Linked DNA regions of Homo sapiens: all the other regions are linked to region 5. The links are contacts of gene promoters, found by promoter capture Hi-C in blood cells and fetal thymus (Javierre and others, 2016). All regions are on one chromosome and are shown on one strand. Each heading gives the region's core, a stretch centred on a gene start or on the middle of the fragment in contact. The rest is flanking DNA. Distances are from core to core; before and after follow the strand shown.

Region 1 (2,878 bases), core at 46-2,545, 510 kb after region 5:
TTAGATGTTTATCTGTGTAAAAATGTCCCAAGTGAGGACTTAAGATGTCAGGGCTCTTCTGATGGCAAATGATAGAAAGAGAAGTCAAACTAGCTTAAGCAAAACTGAGAGTGTGGGTTTAGCCTGTGTGGGGAAGGATCAGGGAAGGCTTGAGGTTGGGAATAGGGTGAGGCTCAGAGACAGGACCTAGATCAAGCTTCAGATGGGGATCAGTGATTGATGTTGAAATCAAAGCTGGGATGGGGGCAGGGATGGGGTGGCAGCTTGGGATGAGGTCAGAGAAGGATGAATGCCAGGAATCGGTAGAGATCTACAAGGAGGGAGAGTGAGAGTCAGGGTCACAGTGAGGTGTTGGGAACAGGGAGATTCAACATGGAGCTGGGACCAGATATGGAGAGTGAGACTTTGGAATGGGATAAGTGTGGGGGAGTGGTGAGGCTCAGGGAGGGGGTGTCAGGCCTGGAATGAATATCAGGGAAGGCTTAGTAGCTATAAGGCTGGAGCAGAAGACGTGCCTGGTAGGGTCACCATCCTATCTGGAGCATCATCTAAGATCCTCTTCCGGGGCCAAAAGACAGAGGCTCCTCAGTCTGTCCTGCTTAAGACTCTCCAGGCAGGTGAGTGAGGAGGGAGTTAGGCACTCGAGCCCTAAGAGATAGACCTGATTCAGCAGAGAAGACAAGAAGGATGCAAAGGATGCACAGAGAATCTAGGGCAGAAGGCTGAGAACTGGGGCCTCCTTTTCCTCTCCTCCCTCCGCTGATCTCCCTCCACCTCTCCTACTGTTTCCTCAAAGTCCAACTTCCTCCTTCTTCACCTTATGCTCCTGCAAGGACAACTCCATCAGAGGCTTCAGTAAGTAAATAGGGATCCACACTGGGTCCAGGGGAAATGCAAATGACTCATAACCTCATGAAAAATGCTCAGTCTCACTAGGAACTAAATGAGGCTCAAACAGCAACAAAATAACTCAGAAGTGTTTTAAACAGGGGAGGGATATAGTGGACTCTTCAAACAAGTGCAACATTTTTCGATTGGATTTTTTTTTTTTTTTTAATGAGACAGGGTCTTGCTCTGTCACCCAGGCTGGAGTGCAGTGGTGCATACACAGCTCACTGCAGCCTCAACCTTCTGAGTTCAGGTGATCCTCCAACCTCAGTTTCCAGAGTAGCTGGGACCAGAGCTGTGCGCCATTATGCCCAGATAATTTTTAAAATTTTTTGTAGATATGGAGTCTTGCCACGTTGCCCAGGCTGGTCTTGGACCCCTGAGCTCAAGTGATCTGCCTGCTTCGGCCTCCTAAAGTGCTGGGATTACAGGTGTGAGCCACTGCACCCAGGCTGATTGGAAATTCTAATGCAGCCTGTAATTTTCTGGGTATAGCTCAAGACACAAATGATTTGGATTTCAGATTTTTAAAAAATGTCAGGATTTTGGTACTTAGTTAACAGCATATTGAAGTACCAAAAACTGATATTTCAATTACTAGATAGGGTGAGGATTAGATCCAGTCAGAGCCAGGGAGAGTGTTTGCCTTAAGGAGGGACTCCCTTGTCCAGGATGGGGCTGGCACTAGGGATGGGGTGAATCTTAGGACAGGAGTGGGGGTCAGAAATGGGAGGGGTCAGTGATGAGATTGGGATTACAGAGGGGATGTACATCAGGGTAAGGTGAGGGACGGGGATTAGGATGTAACGGCATGTTCTGCACAATGCTTCCTGATGTTAAAATCCTAAAGTTTGTTTTGTAGCCTTGGTGACAACGTTTGAGACTCTAAATCAAAATGTGAAAATCTACTGTTTTCCCCTAAACCAGTTCCACTTCTGACCAACCACAGCCTCTCACCACCCCTTGCCCTCCATCCCCTGGCCCATTCTTGTTAATTCCAGCAAAAATACTAATTGACAATCAACATTTTATGCCATAGAGGTAAAATTTGCCCCTTTCTCAGCAAAGTAGTATTTTAATAAGAGTCTTTCAGAGACTGAAAAATCTCATAGATGCAAATGAGTAACATGACAATCTCCTCTTTGGTCTAAGGATCGTCCCAAAGAGGTGCCTTCCTAGAGAAGACCACTCACCAAGAGACAGTGGTGGAGCCCTGTCTTTTGCCGTTTCCATGCAGAGGTCAGAGAGGCCACTCTAGGTTCCACCCAGAAAGCCACAAGGAGCTAACGGCGGAGCTCTCAGCACCAATGTTTTCTTGCAGCCTGGTATTCAGTTTTTAAATCCAAAGTCTTCCTTCCAACCTTCAGGGTAGAAATGAATCAAAGACATAATAAATAAAAAATAATCGAAATATGTTAACTCGACTTTTTAAGATTAAATTTTCTTTCTATTGTCTAAGTATTTTATACACATTGTTGAAAAAACGAAATGGCTTTATGAAGCTTATAACAAAAAACCAGCAGCCTTCCAGCTCCAATCCCTGCAGACAAGGGCAGCAGCTGTCAGCTCTCATAGCTGTTTCATCGGATAGTGATCTATATATTTCTAAATATCATACTTGTTCTGCTAGTTTTTTTCTTTTTTTTGGTCTCACTCAGTCTCCCAGGCTGGAGTGCAGTGGCATGATCTCAGCTCACTGCAACCTCCGCCTCCCTGGTTTAAGTCATTCTCCCACCTCAGCCTCCTGAGTAGCTGGGACTATAGGTGCCCGCCATTACGCCTGGCTAATTATTGCATTTTTTGGTAGAGACAGGGTTTCACCATGTTGGCCAGGCCAGTTCATCACTTGAACTCCTGACCTCAAGTGATCCCCCCACCTCAGCCTCCCAAAGTGCTGGGATTACAAGTGTGAGCCACTGTGACCAGCCCTCTGCTAGTTCTTGTTTTTCTCCCCCTCCAGGTTTAGCTATCATCACTGACTCTCTCTTTT
Region 2 (3,103 bases), core at 363-2,862, 480 kb after region 5:
TTTACCTGCTTTATCTCATATTTATCCATTATCCATCCCTATAGCCATTAATCTATTCTTTTGGATGTGTTTCAAAGTAACTGTGGACACCAGTATACTTCTCCCTAAATACATCAGTGTGTACATCATTGATTAGAGATCAATATTTGTTTATAGTTTTTTTTTTTTTTTTGAGACGGAGTCTCTGTTGCCCACACTGGAGTGCAGTGGTGCGATCTTGGCTCACTGCAACCTCCGCCTCCCAAATTCAAGTGATTCTCCTGCCTCAGCCTCCCAAGTAGCTGGGATTACAGGCATGCGCCACCATGCCCTGCTAATTTTTGTATTTTTAGTAGAGACGGGGCTTCACCATGTTGGCCAGGCTGGTCTCAAACTCCTGACCTCAAGTGATCCTCCTACCTTGGCCTCCTAAAGTGCTAGGATTACAGGCGTGAGCCACTGCACCTGGCCTTTAGTGTTTTCTTTTGATGTAAAATTTGTAGACAATGAAGTGCACAAATCTTAAGTGTATATTCACTAAGTTTCAACTAATAGGTGCCCCTGTGTAATCCCAATGCCCATCAATATAGAAAACATTACCATCATTCCTAAAAATCCTCTCATGTCCCCCCATGGCTGGTTTGTCTCTGCCTCCATCCTCCCAGAGGTAACTTCTGCTCTGATTATTTTCAGATTAGTTTCACCTGTTCTAGAACTTCATAGAAGTGGAAGGCTTCTTTTACTCAGTGTAATGTTTTTAAGATACATCATGTTGTGGAGTATATCAGTAATTCAGTCCTTTTTATTGATGAGAATGACTCCATTGTATGACTATTCCACTGTATGTTTAGCCATTCTCCTATTGATGGACACCTGGACTGTTTCTAGTTTTTGGCAATTATCAATAAAGCTATTGATATTTTTGTGAACATATTATTTTCATTTCTCTTGGGCATATTCCTAGGAGTGGGATTGCTGGGTCAGAAAGTAGAAGAAACTGCCAGACCTTTTACCAAAGTGTTTGCACCATTTTACATTCCCACTAATTATATGTGAGGATTCCAGCTATACTACAACCCACTAATAGTCGATATTATCATGCTTTTGTATTTTTAGTCATTCTGGTGATGTGATGTTTGATTGTGTAATGAGATTTCTTTTCTTTTTCTTTCTTTTTTTTCTTTTCAGATAGAATCTCACTTTCACCCAGGCTGGGTCTCAGCTCACTGCAACCTCTGCCTACGAGGCTCAAACAATTCTCCCACCTCAGCCTCTTGAGTAGTTGGGACTATAGGTGCATATCAGCACGCCTGGCTAATTTTTGCATTTTTTGTAGAGATGGGGTTTCGCCAGGCTGCCCAGGCTGGTCTCAAACTCCTGGCCTCAAGTGATCCACCTGCCTTGGCCTCCCAAAGTGCGTGGATTACAGGCGTGAGCCACTGTGTCTGGCCCACATTGTTGATAAAACCTTCCTTTCCCTCACTGGATTGCTTTGGAACTTCTGTTGAAAATCAAGTGATGGTGTAAGTGTGGCTCTATTTCTAGGATTTCTTTTACATTCTAGGTTTAGCTGAGTTTTGCCATGAGCTCAGTGTTGTCAAATCTTCAATTTTTTTTTTTTTTTTTTTTTTTTTTAAGATGGAGTTTTGCTTTTGTCTCCCAGGCTGGAGTGCAATGGTATGATCTCGGCTCACTGCAACCTCTACCTCCCGGGTTCAAGTGATTCTCCCGCCTCAGCCTCCTGAGTAGCTGGGATTACAGGTGCATGCCACCATGTCCAGCAAATTTTCATATTTTTAGTGGAGACAGGGTTTCACCATGTTGGCCAGGCTCTTCTTGAACTCCTGACCTCAGGTGATCCACCCGCCTTGGCCTCCCAAAGAGCTGGGATTACAGGCATGAGCCATGGCGCCCAGCCCAGATCTTCAAAATTTTAAAGGAGAGTGTATAAATCCAGATGTTTTTAAATGTGAAAAAGCCTCAAGGTTTAAAAGTCAGAAACCAATTCTAATTTAAACAAACAAGGAAACCAATCCCAGGCAGTCAAAGAAACTCATCTGCAGGCTGAACTAGATGTGTGGCATTGGAACAGGGAGAGGTAGTTTCAGCAGGAGTCTGGATACATGTGTGTATATATATGTATATAAAATTATTTTTTGAGACAAGGTTTTGGTCTGTTGCCCAGGCTGGAGTGCAGTGGTGTGATCATGGCTCATTGCATCCTTGACCTCCTGGGCTTGAGCAATCCTCCCACCTCAGCCTCCTGAGTAGCTGGGACCACAGGTGTGTTCCACCACACCTGGCTAATTTTGAAAATTGCTTTGTAGAGGTATGAGGTTCCACTGTGTTGCCCAGGCTGGTCTTGAATGCCTGGGCTTAAACGATCCTCCTGCCTCGACCTCCTAAAGTGCTGGAATTACAGGGGTGAGCCACTGTGCCCAGCCTGGATATATGTATATTAAAGTATAAATCAAGGGTCTTATTTTAATTGAAAGATAATGGGAGTGTTCTCAGGGCAAGTAGGTGGGTTCCAGTGGTCAGTGAAAGTCAATAAGAATTCACTGCAAGGGTAAAATTAAAGCCTGTGGGTCAAGGTTTCCTTGGTGCCTAGGAAAGTGGAGGAGCACATTTGTGAAGCTATTAGAATTGCATTTAGAAACCGTAAGGACAGGAAGGGCTAAGGGGAGGCACTGAGTGGAGGCAGTTGACAAACCAGTGACAGGAAAGACACAGGGCCAAGAGAGCCCAAAGTGAGCTGATTTGGAGAATCTGGAGCAGAGGGAATAAAGAGAATCACAGGTCTCTAAACCCAGGGCCCAGAAAGATGCTCCCTGGAATTGGCTGGAGGCTTCCTTGGCTCTGTGGGTGGAAATTGAGACAGAGCAGCCAGAAGACATACAACTGCACATGCCAGAGCTTAGAGCAGTTTCTCAGCTGCACCACAGACCTCCTGCCACCATGGTTGAATTATGACTGTTTAACATTTTAAAATTATTTTTTAAACATTGAAAATATGTAATGGGAACTATGTCACATGTTTCAAAAAAAAAAAAATTAAAAGCTATTCACAAGGAGTCTTCTTCCCACCTGTCTCCCATCTGCCCAGTTTCCATCTAGAACCCCT
Region 3 (2,771 bases), core at 12-2,511, 320 kb after region 5:
TCAAGGCTGGGGCCCTGGGAAGTACCTTGATGAAGTCTTGGCTGTGCTGTTCCATGAGCTCCAGCTTCTCTGAGAGATAGCCTGGGGTGCAGGGACACAGGCATTGACGTCACAGGAGATGTGGGTCAGAGGCTGAAGGAAGGGAAGGTGGTGGCGCAGCTGGAGGACTAGGTGTAATACGGTCCCAGAAAAACTACAGGATGGGTAAGATGTGCCCTCATCCCGAGTCCATGAGGAACTCGCTCATCCCTCTCCCACCCCGTGCCTTGTCCTGGTCCAAGGCAAAGCCAAGGGCTTGGTCCTGAAAAAAGATTCTAGGAATTGGTGGAGGGGAGGGTTGGAGGAAGGGGAGAGTGACGGGCATCAGGCAGTAGGAACGCTACCCAGGAGGGAATTTCCGCAGAGCATTTTGTCCAAGAAGCCTCGGCTAGAGGCATGCACGAAGAGGCAGTATGTCAGCATGCCGAGTTTTTCCTGGTATTTCCCTCTCTGCACCTCAATGGTCAGCTCTCCCTGAGGCTCCCCGGTGTCTGAGACCATGGCCAGCGTCTCAGAGAAGAACAGCATCTGTAGCTCCTCCTTGTCTGGGGTGAGGGGCCCGTGGGAACAGATAAAGCCCCTGCTCCTGGGCCCCAATCCAATCCTCTGACCCCATGACCACCAGTGTCCCCACAGTCCCCACCTGCCTCCTCATCCCACAGCCTTCCTCACTGGCACGGACAGGTGAAGACTCCTGCCCCATGTCCCCATGTCCCCGGGGGGCCTTCCCTTGAAGAATGTCAACAAACAGGCCTCAGGCCTTTTCTGAGTCCCAGGAGAATCAAGGAAGAGAGAGAGAGAGAGAGAGAGAGAGAGAGACTGGACTTTCTTCCCTCCTCTCCAGACTTGCACCCCTCCCGCACCCCCAACCCCGACACTGTCTGAGCTCACGGAGGGAGCTGAGGAAGTCGATGGCTTCAGCATTGGCCTCTGGGAGTGGCAGACACTCCGGACCCGAGGGCTGGTGGTCCTTAGCTCTGGAGCCTACAGAGGGATGAGAGGCTAAGATGGCAGACCCTGGGGAGAAGGGCAGGGGTCAGGGAGGCAAGGCAGGGTACCTCAGTCCTGGCCCCAGCACCCAAGAACAGAATCCTCTAAGACTACCCCGAGGGTGGATTGGGAAGAAAGAAGAGGATCCCCGCCTCCAGCCCCAGCAGTCCTCTTCCCACCTGTGGAGTAAACCTTGGAGGACATGCTGTGGGCCTGCCTCTACCCGGTCTGTGTCCAGCTGTCTCCATGGCAACCAGAGCTGGACAGTGCCTCTTAAAGGGCCATCAACCCACTTTACTACACCCAGACCTTGGAGGGAACTGACACTGCAGGTTTGGGGCTCAGCACAAGCTTGAGGTGTTGTCCAGCAGAGGGAGCATTTGATATATATTTTTTTCTTTTTTGAGACGCAATCTCGCTCTGTCACCCAGGCTGGAGTGCAGTGGCGCATTCTCATCTCACTGCAACCTCTGCCTCCCGGGTTCAAGCAATTCTTCTTGAGGTCTCAGCCTCCCGAGTAGCTGGGACTACAGGCGCACACCACCGCGCCCAGCTAATTTTTGTATTTTTAGTAGAGATGGGGTTTCACCATATTGGCCAGGCTGGTCTTGAATTCCTGAGCTCGTGATCCTCCTGCCTCAGCCTCCCAGAGTGCTGGGATTACAGGTGTGAGCCACCGCGCCTGGCCCACATTTGATATTCTTAAGAGGCAGAGTGAAGAAATGGGTCATTAGAATGACCTTAGAAGAGGCCAGGTGTGGTGGCTCACACCTGTAATCCCAGCACTTTGGGAGTCCCAGGCAGGTGGATCACTTGAGGCCAGGAGTTTGAGATCCAGCCTGGCCAACATGGTGAAACCCATCTCTACTAAAAATACAAAAATTACCAGGGAGTGGTGGCACATGCCTGTAATCTGTCTCAAAAAAAAAAAAATGACCTTAGAAGATATGAACGAAAGTCAGACAGAGTCTCAAATGCACACTATCCAATTAGCTGCTACATGAATATCTCTGCAAGTTACAGTTCTAATACATGTAACAATAATGATAACAACAATGACAACATAGCAAACTCTTTGACTGGACTTATTCCTGGTGAGGCGCTTTTTTTTTTTTTTTTAGAGAGTCTCACTCTGTTGCCAGTCTGGAGTGCAGTGGCGCCATCTTGGCTCACTGCAACCTCTGCCTCCTGGGTTCAAGTGATTCTCCTACCTCAGCCTCCTGAGTAGCTGGAACTACAGGAGTGTGCCACCATGCCCAGCTAATTTTTGTATTTTTATTTTTATTATTTTTATTTATTTATTTGTTTGTTTTAATTATTTTTGAGAAAGAGTCTCACTCTGTCACCCAGGCTAGAATGCAGTGGCATGATCTCAGCTGCAACCTCCTCCTGCCAGGTTCAAGTGATTCTCCTGCCTCAGTCTCCCAAGTAGCTGGGACTACAGGCACCCGCCACCACACCTGGCTAATTTTTGTATTTTTAGTAGAGATGGGGTTTCACCATGTTGGCCAGGCTGGTCTTGAACTCCTGAGCTCAAGTGATCCACCTGTAGAGTCCAGCCCTACGGGGCTTAGCGGGTGTTCTCCCTGTGTGTGGAGACGAGAGATTGTAATAAATAAAGACACAAGACAAAGAGACAAAGAGAAAACAGCTGGGCCCGGGAGACCACTACCATCAAGACATGGAGACTGGTAGTGGCCCAGAACGGCTGGGCGCGCTGATATTTATTGCACACAAGACAA
Region 4 (2,881 bases), core at 164-2,663, 290 kb after region 5:
TTCTGAAACCAGAGTGGCCCGGGTCAGCCCAGCCTGGTCCAGGGGTCTCTAACTCCTACGGAGCCTCAGGGCTGGAGACAGGAATCTGGCCTCCTGGGAGCAGGACCCTAAGCGCCCCCAGACAGCTAGGGCAAGGGGAGTGGGAGTGTGGCATAGAACAGTCGAGGCAGGGCAGAGCTAGAGGAGAGACCTGGCACCCGGCGCAGCAGGGAGTTTGGGGCTGCAGTCCCAAAGTCCTGCATGACTCACATCTGTGTGACTTTAGACAAGTCACTTTACATTTCTGGAAAACAGGGCAGCAGCCCTGCTTCAGAGGGGACAGCAGGATAAAATAGACTCTGGGAGGGACTGGTTAGGGGGGGAAGTAGCAGCAGCTGTTCTCTGCCTGGCCTGAAGAGTTGGGGTACACTGGGGTGGTACCGTCCAGCTGAGAGCAGATTGAATGCAATGGCCGTGCCGATGACTTCCTGCATGTCGGAGCCCACAATGGCTAGCTCGATGGTCAGCCAGAGGACGGTGCGGGGCACCTATGGGGAGGAGATGATCCTTCATTAAGGGTGGGCCGGTTATTTGCCTGTCGTCTCAGACTACATTTGTCTGTCGTCTCAGACTACATTTACTAGACAGTCTGGCCAATGGGCTTCCTACCTTATGTAGGAAGAGCATACAGGAGATGGAAAGGCAGAGATAAACTTTTTTTTTTTTTTTCGAAATAGAGTTTTGCTCTTGTTGCCCAGGCTGGAGTGCAATGGCATGATCTCGGCTCACCACAATCTCCGCCTCCCGTGTTCAAGCGATTCTCCTGCCTCAGCCTCCCGAGTAGCTGGGATTACAGGCATGTGCCACCATGCCCGGCTAGTTTTGTATTTTTAGTAGAGACGGGGTTTCTCCATGTTGGTCAGGCTGGTCTCGAACTCCCGACCTCAGGTGATCCACCCGCCTTGGCCTCCCAAAGTGCTGGGATTACAGGCGTGAGCCACCGCCCCAGGCTGAGATAAACCATTTTCTCCCCCTGCTTCTTGTATTTCTGGCAGTGGCACCAGGCAACCCGGACTCTGGCAGCACTAGTGGCCATTTCATCAGCATCAATAATGCTTCCAGGAGCTCAGCAGCAAAGGATGGCTCTGGGGCTTGTGCCAGAGGTGTAGCAGCTTTCTGATCTTTTTGTAACACCCTCTTCCCTTGCCCCTCAAGCCCTCCCAAACCTTTCAATCCCTGCATTCAATACCTTTGAAATGTCCAGTGCTGTAATTTCTGTTTTCCAAACTGGACACTCACAACAACGAAGTCCCCAGGGTCCACCCCAACCAGTGACCATTCCTGAGCTGATGCCTCCCCATTTTTTGTCTTGGGCAAGTCTCTTTCCCAAATTTTAATTACCCCTTCTGTGAAATGACATGCCTCTCATGTCCCTCTAGGCTATGTGCTATCAGTTTGAGCCTCAGTCTTTCCATCTATCAAATGGAATTGGGGCCGGATGCAGTGGCTCATGCCTGTAATCCCAGCACTTTGGGAGACTGAGGTGGGTGGATCATCTGAGGTCAGGAGTTTGAGACCAGCCTGGCCAACATGGTGAAACCCCAGCTCTACTAAAAATACAAAAATTAGCCGATGATGGTGGTGGGCGCCTGTAATCCCAGCTACTTGAGAGGCTGAGTCAGGAGAATCACTTGTACCTGGGAGGTAGAGGTTGCAGTGAGCTGACATCGCACCATTGCACTCCTGACTGGGCGACGGAGCGAGACTCCGACTGAAAAACAAACAAACAACAACAAAAACAAACAGACTTGGGATGCCCCATGTGAGATGATGTATTTATTTGATCGTGGAAGCTGAAAATGGCTGTTTGGGGTTTGGGGCCAGTGGTTCTCCCTGTCCAGGCCCCCCAAGCTCACCTTAGGGTAGTAGAGATGGCAGACCTCGCCCAAGTCCTTGCCTGTCACCACGCCCAGACGTGCAGCCAGTCGCTGGCAGAGCAAGCCCAACACGGTGGCCCAGAGCAGCACCCAGAGAAGCTGTGAGGAGGCAGGGAGAGGCCTTCAGCCAGAGAGGCCAGCCTCAGAAAGCCCCTGAGCTCGTGGTACCCTCTAACCAAGCATACTCCTCGGGGAGGGGGTGGGAGAGATGGAGTCCCATCCTGGCTGGGCGCTGGTAGCTCACCCTGTAATCCCAGCACTTTAAAAGGCTAAGGTGGGAGGATTGCTTGAGTCCAGGAGTTCAAGAGCAGCCTGAGCAACATAGTGAGACCCCCATCTCTAAATAAATAAATAAATTACGCCAGGCAAGGTGGCTCACACCTGTTATCCCAGCACTTTGGGAGGCCGAGGCGGTGGATCACTTGAGGTCAGGAGTTCAAGACCAGCCTGGCCCACACAGTGAAACCCCATCTCTACTAAAAATACAAAAATTAGCCAGGCGTGGTGGCATGCACTACTCAGGAGGCTGAGGCAGGAGAATCACTTGAACCCGGGAGGCAGAGGTTGCAGTGAGCCGAGATTGTGCCACTGCACTCCAGCCTGGGTGACCGAGTGAGACTGAGTCTCAAAAAATAAAATTAAATAAATAAATAAATAAATATACATATATATATTTTAAAGAGAGGAGTCCAGTCCCCTACCCCCCACACAAATGCCCCACCTTCTGGCAGGGCTGCCCTGGGGACCCTTTTCGGGCCCATTTGAACTTAACACCAGCTCCCAGGCCACATTGGAGAAACATGGCCAGCAGGGGCCTTCAACACTTAGCCTGGTCACCTCCCTCTCGAAAGTGTCCCCACTCAGGTCCCGACTTAGTTACTTTGAATCCCGCCACGGCGCCAGCCTGAAGATCTGACTCGATGTTTCCTGGGTCCAGGAAAGCAATGCTCATGAGGAAGCCAGGC
Region 5 (3,210 bases), core at 169-2,668:
CATCTGCAAAACATTTCCCCTTCTGGAAGAAGTGTTCTGATTTGACCAGCACTCAAGATGAGATTTAGGAGAAAGGAAAGGAAAAAAAAAATGAAGAGGAAATAATAGAGTTCAAGTGGTTTACCTCTTATTACATGGTGTGCTAGAGACTAATAATATTTGTTGTTTACTAACAGCCAGGCACTGTACTAAGTGATTTAATGTGAAAACATATTTAATCCTCAAACTCCATCAATCAGTTGCTGTTCTTATCCCCATTCTAGAGATAAGGAAATTGAGACATAGGGAAGTTAAGTAATTTGTCCATAATTCTAGGGCTAGAAAGCGGTGGAGATGGAATTTGCACCCAAATAATCCAACTTCAAAGCTTATACTCCATAAGAAGTATGAGGGAGTCAGTACCTTAGGAATACAAACTGGTATAAATACATTCCTTCTAGATCCATTTTCCACTGGAGTTGGGGGTACCAAATCCCACCCAAAAGGTATCCCTCTTTGTGCAACACCTGAGCACTGTATTTTCTTCGACCCTTGTACACCCTCCCAAAAGAGCCTTCTCCAATCATCTCCAACACGTGGTACTTTTCCATGACAGAGGTTTCAGGATCTCTTAGAAGGAAGAAAGTAGAGACGGTGAAGAGCTATAGATCCAGGGACAGTTCCACAACATCTGGGACGCCTAGTTGGGGCACGGGAAAGGAAAAATGTTAGCCACCTTGCCTTTTCCTCTTTTTCACAATAAAGCCTCAAAAAACATGGGAGGGTGGAATGCATGCAAAGATGATGCGCTCTTGGAACAAACAGAGCTTCTCTTTGTAGTTCCTCCCCACTTTCATCCTCCTGTCCCCAACCCGGCCCCATGCCCAACTAACACCTGGTTCCCCTTCTCCCTCACCCAGCCTGGCTCACTCGACCCTACTCTTTCAACCTAGCCTCGCCCAACCAACCCTGCTCCTTTGAGTCTCCCCCAAGTTCCTGCCACTCCCAGACTCCTCAGCACCCGCTCTCAGACCCCCTGGCCCGTGCGCTTCGCAGGCCAGAGCCCCTCTCTCACCCCCAGCCTAGGAGCTCCAAGCTCCTCAGGCCAAGGGACGGATTCCCTGGCGTTTAGCCCCATCTCTTCTGGCTGCCTGCATACGTTGCCTGACTTATAATTCTTCTCCACCCGCCTCTCCCTCCGGTCTCTTTCGGCTCCCTTTCTTACAATTTTACTCGCTAGAACTGGTGAGAAGTTCAGAGGACAAAGGCGCTCAGAGGTGTGGAATGGACGGCGGACCACACATGGGCACTTCCTGGGACACATCCGAACTGCCTCAGGGCCATCAGGCCCGGCTAAGGACCCGGAGTCTGCGGTTGCCTAGAAACGACGCTAGCTGCCCACCCCTCTTAGTTTTCCGCCTCCGACTTCCCTAAGGGCATTTCCGGTTCCGGCTGCGGGCCGGTGAAGATATGGCGGCGTCTGCGTCTGCAGCTGCAGGGGAGGAGGACTGGTAACTTTGGGGGCATGGGCTTTGGCTGACAGCCTGGATCTAGTCCAGAGGCCTAGCAGCTGTCGCAGACGGTCCGTACGGCGGGCGTGTGGGGTGGAGCGAGGGATGAGGGATGGCAGAGATGCTGACATCTCTGGGAAAGCTGGACTGGGGAACGGGAGGGTGGAGGGGCGCTGATCTGAGTGAGAGGAGAACGGGTCGGCGCCCGCCAGGCCAGTTCAGGCCTCGCCGCATCCGGTTCGATCCCTTTTCCTCCAGCTTCACGCCATCCCTTTCTCTCCTCCTCAAATGAATTTTCTCAGGGGCTTTGGGGGATGCCTGCCCATCAGACCTCCCCATCTCCCTTTCTCCTCTCAGAACCAGTGCCCTCCAGTTCCGGCCCCCTTTCCCCTTGGATCAGCCTTTTTCCGCCGACGCTTTCCTCAGCCTTCTCTCTCTCACACAGCACTAGTGAGGACTATTGTATGAATAAAGCTTTACACTTCATATAAAGTCCCTCTAGTCCTTCTCTCAAGCATTCTTAACCAAAGACTAGAACATGGAAGGACTCTGGGATTTGGAAGTAGGATCAATGTGGGTTAACTCCACATTTTATTAGCTGTGTGATGCTGAACAGGCCATCTAGCTTCTGTGAGTCAGTGTCCTCAGCTGTAAAAAAAAAAAGTGGGTGTGGCATTTACCTCAGAATAGTTGAGAGGATCACGACGGATTTGTAATATACTTAAGTCTGTTTTTTGTTTTGTTTTGTTTTGTTTTTTGAGACAGAGTCTCACTCTCGCCCACGCTGGAGTGCGGTGGTGCGATTACGGCTCACTGCAGCCTCGACCTCCCCAGGCTCAGGTGATCCTTCTGCCTCAGCCTTCCGAGTAGCTGAGACTACAGGTGTGTGCCACCATGCCTGGCTAATTTTTGTATTTTTTGTAGAGACGGAGTTTTGCCATGTTGGCCAGACTGGTCTTGAACCCCTGGGTTCAAGTGATCCTCCCACCTCAGCCTCCCAAGGTGCTGGAATTACAGGCGTGAGCCACCACACCCGGCCTCCTTTTCATTAATAACTGAGGTGCAGGCACCTGGGAAGACTAGATGAGTCCCAAAGAAGTAAAGTGATTTGCCAAAAGATAGAAAATTATGAATAGAAATCCATATCTGTCTGACTCCACACCTTAGATTCTTTGTACTAGGACATTCTTCAGTCCCCACTCCCCCAATTTTTTTTTTTTTTTTTTTTTTTTTTGAGACGGAGTCTTGCTCTGTCGCCCAGGCTGGAGTGCAGTGGCGCAATCTCGGTTCACTGCAAGCTCCGCCTCCCGGGTTCATGCCATTCTCCTGCCTCAGCCTCCCGAGTAGCTGGGACTACAGGCGCCCGCCACCACACCCAGCTAATTTTTTGTGATTTTTAGTAGAGACGGGGTTTCACCCTGTTAGCCAGGATGGTCTCTATCTCCTGACTTCATGATCCACCCGCCTCAGCCTCCCAAAGTGCTGGGATTACAGGCCTGAGCCACCGCGCCCGGCCCCCCTCCCCCATTTTGTTGTCACCACCTTACCACCATCCCATCCAGGACCCATATAACTAGGGTGGGCGAAGTATTGAAGGGCCACTTGACTGAGGCTACACCTCAATGTTACATTGGTTCAGGGAGCCCAGCTAGTACTGGCCGTTATTAAGAGTATCTAGACTACTGGTTTTCAAAGTGTTCAGGGAAACTTCTTTTTTTTT
Region 6 (2,907 bases), core at 21-2,520, 440 kb after region 5:
GCTTGAACTCTTGACCTCAAGCGATGCTCCTGCCTTGGCCTCCAAAAGTGCTGGGATTACAGGAATGAGCCCCCACGCCTGGCTGAACAATAATTTCCTAATATTCCACATATTTATTTAACCATTTTCCTATAGCTGGAAGAAATTTTCAACCTGCAAGACTACATTTTCTTACACAAGGGCAAAAGATAAATAATGCCACCTGTAGTTCCTATTTGGTGATTGCACAGCCACTGTGAGGTATTTCTTTTACCGAAGAGGAATTGAGAGGAGGGGCTCAAGGTCACGAGAGTTTCTTGGTGGCACAGAGAGACTTGACCTTCAGGTGTCTGATATACCACTTCTTTAAAAAAAAGTAACATGCATATCCCAAGAATTTGAAACAGCATGCGACCTCTGAGCTACAAGTCTGTGTTGCACGTACTATTGGTATTTCGAGGAAGGGGAAATCAGATGTGGTGGGGATTTAGTTTAAATCCCTAAGTCCCTAAGATTTAGTTTAATTTCAAGCTTACTAAGTTAATATTCTGAGATCTAAGAGGTACTGAGAGCCAAATTTATATCATGTTCAACTGCTTTGCTCCCTCCCCTTGGTAAAACCAGCCAACACTTCCTTGTCACTTCACTTGCACTTTTAACCATGATTCACTTTTCAGTTTGTACCCCCTCTCCCAATGACACCAGGAGATGGGTGGAGGCAACCTATCACTCATCACCATTACCTTCCCACTCTAGCAGCAGAGGCATTCCACCTTTAAAAATGGCCTGTGACAAAGTAATAACCTTCCTGTGGTTATCATGGGTTGGTCACTGTTTAACCAACCCAGGGAGCCATTTACTGTGCACTCTGCTCCAACACTATGAATGTTACTTACTCCACCCACTTGAGTGGGTGGGGCTGGTTCTTTGACCCTTGTGGTAGCTACAAGAATAGCAATGTGTTCTGGAGCTCCATCGTAAGAAAAGCACAGAATGGAAAGGAGATTTAAGAAATCTAGCTTAACTCTTTCTTTCCAGGATTATTATTATTGCATTTAGATCTTTTCCTTTTTTTGAGGTGGAATCTCACTATGTCGTCCAGGCTGGACTTGAACTCCTGGGCTCCAGCAACTCTCCCCACTTGAACCCCTCAAGCCAACTGTGTGAAGTCCCAACACACAGTTGGCACTACAGGTGTGTGCCACTGTGCAGGCTTGCACCTAGTGAAGACTGTCTAGGGGAGAATGATTACACAATTTAAAAAAAGTCTATTCAAATATTTTAACACTTCTTTTCAGGTAGTTATAGCTGATCCAAAGCAGCGATGCAGCTGGACATGGTGGCTCACATCTATAATCCCAGCACTTTGGGAGGCCCAGGAAGGAGGACTGCTTGAGCCCAGGAGTTTGAAACTAGCCTGGGCAACATAGTGAAACCTCCTCTCTCTAAAGAACAAACAAACAAAAAATAAGCCAGGTGTGGTGGCACGTGCCTGTAGTCCCAGACACTCAGGAGGCTGAGGTGAGAGGACTGCTTGAGCCTGGGAGGTTGAGGGGTGCAGTGGCTGTGATTGTGCCACTGCACTCCAGCCTAGGTGACAGAACAAGACCTTGTCAAAAAAAAAAAAAAAAAAAAAAAAGAAAAAAAAAAGAAAAGGCTGGGCACGGTGGCTCACACCTGCAATCTTAGCACTGTGGGAGGTCGAGGCAGGCAGATCACCTGAGGTCAGAAGTTTGAGAGCAGCCTGGCCAATGTGGTGAAACGCCATCTCTATGAAAAGTACAAAAAATTAGCCAGGTGTAGCGGTGCATGCCTGTAATCCCAGCTACTCAGGAGGCTGAGGCAGATGAACTGCTTGAACCCAGGAGTTGGAGGTTGCAGTGAGCTGAGCTGGCGCCACTGCAGTACAGCCTGGGGCAACAGAGTGAGACTCCACCTCAAAAAAAAAAAAGAGGCAGGGCTGCTTTAATAGCCATTTGTTTTCTTTCACTCTTTATCTGGTAAAGAAGTGTCAGCCACTATCTTTTACAAAACAATTCTTCATAAGCTTTATAAAAGCACTAGGTCTTCTTTCTGAAGCTTTTCTTTTTCCAGTAAACTAATCTGGATTCCAAATCCTCTAAATATTTCTTCTTTCTTTGAACTTATGAGAAAATCAATTGCATTTGAATAACTAAGGGAAGCAACCAATGGCTCTTGGTATTAAGACTAATTTTAGTTTTTATGCTAAAAAATTAAACAAGCTTTTGACCATATTCCTTTACAAATCATCTTTTATTATATAAGTTTTAAATAATTCAAAAGCTACTACTTTTCAGAAAGAAACAGCTATGGTTATATCTTCATTTAACAGATTAAGGAGAACCTAGTTTGTTAAAACTAAGAAATTTGAAAACTGATTCAGGAACTGAGTCATATTTCCTGCTTTGAGACCCAACCACAGCGTGCACAAACTGGTGTAATAGCATTTTCTTTCTTCCATAAATGGCTCTCCTCAGAGCAAATACAGTTCAACAGGAACCAAACCTGCTACTTAACTATTTAAAGAAGCCAGTGAACAAGGCATGGCCACCGAAGTTTCATAATGTCTGGACATCTTTCTTATTTCCCCTATGGTAGTTATAAAGAAGAGATATTTAAAGACGGTAGCTTTAAAGAGCTTTAATTAAAAATTTCAAAAGACAGCTATTTGTGCCTAAGCCTCCAGAATGAGAACCTGAGACTATAAAATTTAAACAAGCTAGAAGTTATCTATCTGCCTTGATAATATTACAAAAATAGAACAGAACCTAATTCTTGCAACAGCTATTTTTGTACTGATCAAGGAAAAGTATTCTTTGCTATGTTTTTGGAGAACTAAAGCTATTTTTGTTTCCATTGTTTTAAAGCAAGCAAGCAAGAGTCAAAACCTTTTCTAGGAAACACAAT
Region 7 (2,861 bases), core at 317-2,816, 500 kb before region 5:
TACAGATCTGGGTCTTCTGCTAGCAGTGGGGACTGGTGTGTTGGGTGTGGGTGCTTGTTTGCTCACTCGGCCTTCCTTCTGTCCCTTGCAGACATTGCTGTCGAACTGCTCCAGAAGGCAGCCCCCAGCCCTATTCGCCGACTCCAGAAGAAATATGTAGCTCATGTGTCCCGGTGAGCCTGGAAATGAGGATAGGATGAGAGTGTTTGGGCCCTAGAGAAAGGGGAATCGTCTTTTCTTTCTTTTCTTTCTTTCTTTTTTTTTTTTTTGAGACAGTCTCACTTTGTCACCCAGGCTGGAGTGCAGTGGCACAATCTCGGCTCACCGCAACCTCCGCCTCCTGGGTTCCAGTGATTCTTGTGCCTCAGCCTCCCCAGTAGCTGGGACTACAGGCACACACCACCGCCCCTGGCTAATTTTTGTATTTTTAGTAAAGACGGGGTTTCACCATGTTGGCCAGGCTGGTGTCAAACTCCTGGTGTCAGTCCACCCACCTTGGTCTTCCAAAGTGCTGGGATTACAGACATGAGCCACCGTGCCCAGCCAGGAATAGTTTTTTTCCAAAGATAAGAGGTAAAGACAGGAACGAGCATCATAAGACTTGCAAGAGCTGAAGGACCCTTGGGTTTAATTAGTGATCCTTTCTACCACCCAGGGAGGCATGCATCTCCCCATGTGCTATGATGCTGGCTCTGGTGTACATTGAACGGCTCCGGCACCGAAACCCAGACTACTTGCAGCATGTGTCATCCTCTGACTTGTTCCTGATCTCCATGGTAAGACACCCCCTCCCCATCTCCCTAAAGAGCCAAGAGCCTGCTATGAGCTCTGCTCCACCACTTCTGGTTCCTCTGCAGATGGTGGCCAGTAAGTACCTCTATGATGAAGGGGAGGAGGAGGAGGTCTTCAACGACGAATGGGGAGCTGCTGGGGGTGTGGCCGTGCCCACTCTCAATGCCTTGGAGAGGGGCTTCCTGAGTGCCATGGTGAGCAGCTGTTCTCTCTCTTGCTCAGTTTCCCTGGCCCATCTTTAACCGTCCTTTAGTCCTTTGTTCTCTCTCAGTCTTCTGTTGGTTCGTCATTTCTCTTCCTGTCCTCCTCCTGCCTTTGTGTTAGTGTCTTCCTTTCCTATCTCTTCAGTACTAACCAGTTTTTGGAGATTCGTAGAGCAGTAAGGCCAAGAGCAGAACATTTCCTCGCCTCCTCTATTCCTCCAGGGCCCCACAGGGTACACTCTGAGTCAGAGTTTATCCTATTGGGTTCTGAATATTTGTGTCCATACTTTCTCTGCCCCTAGATGTTTAGCTCCCTGTGGACACAGACCATTCTCAGGGTCATTTTCTCCCCTCTTGCTTAGTGGAGAGTATAATGTGAAACCAGGCAGGTGGTGATTCAATGAGTTAATGTGTAAAAACTTTTGAGACAGTATCTGGCACATGGTAAGTGCCAAATATGCATTAGCCATAGGGGCGGTTGTAGTTGCTGCTATGGCTCTTATTATTAAATGACTGTGGCTCATCCAAGTCTGGTTTGATGTCCACTCTCCGTACTCACAGGATTGGCATCTCTACACTGACCCTCGGGAGATCTTTGAGGTGCTGAGCTGGTTGGAGAGCTGGTAGGTTCTAGGAGTTGGGAAGAAGGGCTCGAGGGATTTGGGGGCTGAGTCCTCAGCCATAGGAGCTAGAGATGAGAGTCTGTGTAACTGGGGGAGGGAGGAGACAAGAAAGAGAATTGCCCAGATAGTGGTTCCCAGACCCATCTGTCCTCTTCTTCATCACCTTTGGGAAGGTGAGAAGCAGCTTATTTAAAATACATGTATTGGGTGGGTATGGTAGTTATGTCTATAATCCTAGCACTCTGGGAGGGTGAGGCTGGAGGATTACTTGGGTCCAGGAGTTCGAGACCAGCCTGGGCAATATAGCAAGATGCCTGACCCTACCAGAAAAAAATACTAGCCAGATGCAGTGGTGTACACCCATAATCCCAGCTACTCAGGAGGCTGAGACAAGAGGATCATTTGAGTCCAGGATGTTGAGTCTGCAGTGAGCTATGATTGCACTACTGCACTCCAGCCTGGGAGACAGCAAGATCCTGTCTTAACAAAATAAATAAATAAAAATAAATAAAATATAGGTCTTGGTCTCACCCTTAGTTTCTAGATCAGCAGATAGCCTAGGAATCTGGGTTTAACAGGCTTCCCAGTGTTTCCTGGTGGGTCCTGAGTGGTATGAGGGTGCCACTGGGCTGGCTGCAGGACAGTTGCATACTCTTGTCATTTCTCCACTTCCCCCAGTGTGGCTGAGCAGCAGGGACGGTGGCGAGGCTGGTACACCTACACAGACCTGTGTGTGCTGCTGGAGCAGCCGACCTGGCAGTTGGCCCTGGGCTCCCTCTGCCAGCGGCTGGTAAAGGTGAGGAGGGGCTCGGAAGGATAGGGAGCTTGAGCAGGCCGGTGTGTAGGGTGGGATGGTGTGAAGTGATTGCTGAAAAGCCCAGGAGATGGGGTTGGGAATAGATGGGCAGAGTGGGGTGTAAATGGCTATAGAGACCTCCAACTGGAACACAGATTTCTAGAGACAAGGGGTGAATGTGTTAAAGACAGATTCCTTCTTTCTTATCTCCTCTCCTGCAGCTGTCTTGCCTGTTAGCTGTGGCATATGTGAGCAGTGTGGCCCTGGCTGTGGCATCGGTGGCCGTAATACATCAGTCTTTGGGGCTGTCCTGCATCCCTACACCTGGGCCGCCTGACCTTGGACTGACCTCCCGTTGCCTCCTGGAGCCCTGCATACCTTCTGTGCCACAATGCCTGCCGTCTCTCGCTAATGTCTCCAGCTGCCTGGAAGGCAGCATGGGGCTGC

The links. The method cuts DNA at HindIII sites, captures the fragments that hold promoters and counts their contacts. A CHiCAGO score of 5 or more calls a contact.
Region 1: a contact is called between a fragment that was not itself captured here and the fragment with the promoter of RNF25 in region 5, in 1 of 17 cell types (erythroblasts). The highest score is 6.1, in erythroblasts.
Region 2: a contact is called between a fragment that was not itself captured here and the fragment with the promoter of RNF25 in region 5, in 7 of 17 cell types (fetal thymus, total B cells, naive CD8 T cells and 4 more). The highest score is 7.6, in fetal thymus.
Region 3: the fragment with the promoter of CATIP here is called in contact with the fragment with the promoter of RNF25 in region 5 in 10 of 17 cell types (naive CD8 T cells, non-activated CD4 T cells, naive B cells and 7 more); the score reaches 9.9 in naive CD8 T cells.
Region 4: a fragment that was not itself captured here is called in contact with the fragment with the promoter of RNF25 in region 5 in 2 of 17 cell types (fetal thymus and naive CD4 T cells); the score reaches 5.5 in fetal thymus.
Region 6: a contact is called between a fragment that was not itself captured here and the fragment with the promoter of RNF25 in region 5, in 5 of 17 cell types (naive CD4 T cells, fetal thymus, total CD8 T cells and 2 more). The highest score is 7.4, in naive CD4 T cells.
Region 7: a contact is called between a fragment that was not itself captured here and the fragment with the promoter of RNF25 in region 5, in 3 of 17 cell types (fetal thymus, activated CD4 T cells and total B cells). The highest score is 6.3, in fetal thymus.

Annotation. Positions count from the first base shown.
Region 1 is chr2:218,159,844-218,162,721 of GRCh38, reverse strand. No RefSeq gene overlaps it. Among named protein-coding and RNA genes, the nearest start is that of CXCR1, 5.7 kb to the left of the region's middle. The HindIII fragment of the contact is 2,194 bases long and covers 199-2,392 here.
Region 2 is chr2:218,187,598-218,190,700 of GRCh38, reverse strand. No RefSeq gene overlaps it. Among named protein-coding and RNA genes, the nearest start is that of CXCR1, 22 kb to the right of the region's middle. The HindIII fragment of the contact is 6,006 bases long and covers 1-3,103 here.
Region 3 is chr2:218,355,347-218,358,117 of GRCh38, reverse strand. It overlaps CATIP (ciliogenesis associated TTC17 interacting protein), which reads right to left and starts at 1,261. Exons shown (of 10, transcript NM_198559.2): 1 at 1,209-1,261; 2 at 931-1,023; 3 at 384-584; 4 at 26-81. The coding sequence starts at 1,233. CATIP-AS2 (CATIP antisense RNA 2) reads left to right here and starts at 152. Exons shown (of 4, transcript NR_125777.1): 1 at 152-204. RefSeq lists an enhancer at 855-1,366. The HindIII fragment of the contact is 20,732 bases long and covers 1-1,382 here.
Region 4 is chr2:218,384,281-218,387,161 of GRCh38, reverse strand. It overlaps SLC11A1 (solute carrier family 11 member 1), which reads right to left. Exons shown (of 15, transcript NM_000578.4): 3 at 2,797-2,881; 4 at 1,896-2,015; 5 at 421-527; 6 at 1-2. Among named protein-coding and RNA genes, the nearest start is that of SLC11A1, 3.4 kb to the right of the region's middle. The HindIII fragment of the contact is 3,664 bases long and covers 1-2,881 here.
Region 5 is chr2:218,670,210-218,673,419 of GRCh38, reverse strand. It overlaps RNF25 (ring finger protein 25), which reads left to right and starts at 1,418. Exons shown (of 10, transcript NM_022453.3): 1 at 1,418-1,490. The coding sequence starts at 1,450. It overlaps STK36 (serine/threonine kinase 36), which reads right to left and starts at 1,334. Exons shown (of 27, transcript NM_015690.5): 1 at 1,205-1,334; 2 at 507-679. The coding sequence starts at 590. RefSeq lists an enhancer at 1,414-1,513. The HindIII fragment of the contact is 1,597 bases long and covers 370-1,966 here.
Region 6 is chr2:218,228,999-218,231,905 of GRCh38, reverse strand. All of the region lies in intron 4 of ARPC2 (actin related protein 2/3 complex subunit 2), which reads right to left. Among named protein-coding and RNA genes, the nearest start is that of ARPC2, 13 kb to the right of the region's middle. The HindIII fragment of the contact is 1,516 bases long and covers 513-2,028 here.
Region 7 is chr2:219,172,903-219,175,763 of GRCh38, reverse strand. CNPPD1 (cyclin Pas1/PHO80 domain containing 1) reads left to right here. Exons shown (of 8, transcript NM_015680.6): 3 at 92-173; 4 at 656-776; 5 at 858-986; 6 at 1,557-1,618; 7 at 2,297-2,414; 8 at 2,636-2,861. Among named protein-coding and RNA genes, the nearest start is that of CNPPD1, 2.6 kb to the left of the region's middle. The HindIII fragment of the contact is 3,353 bases long and covers 1-2,861 here.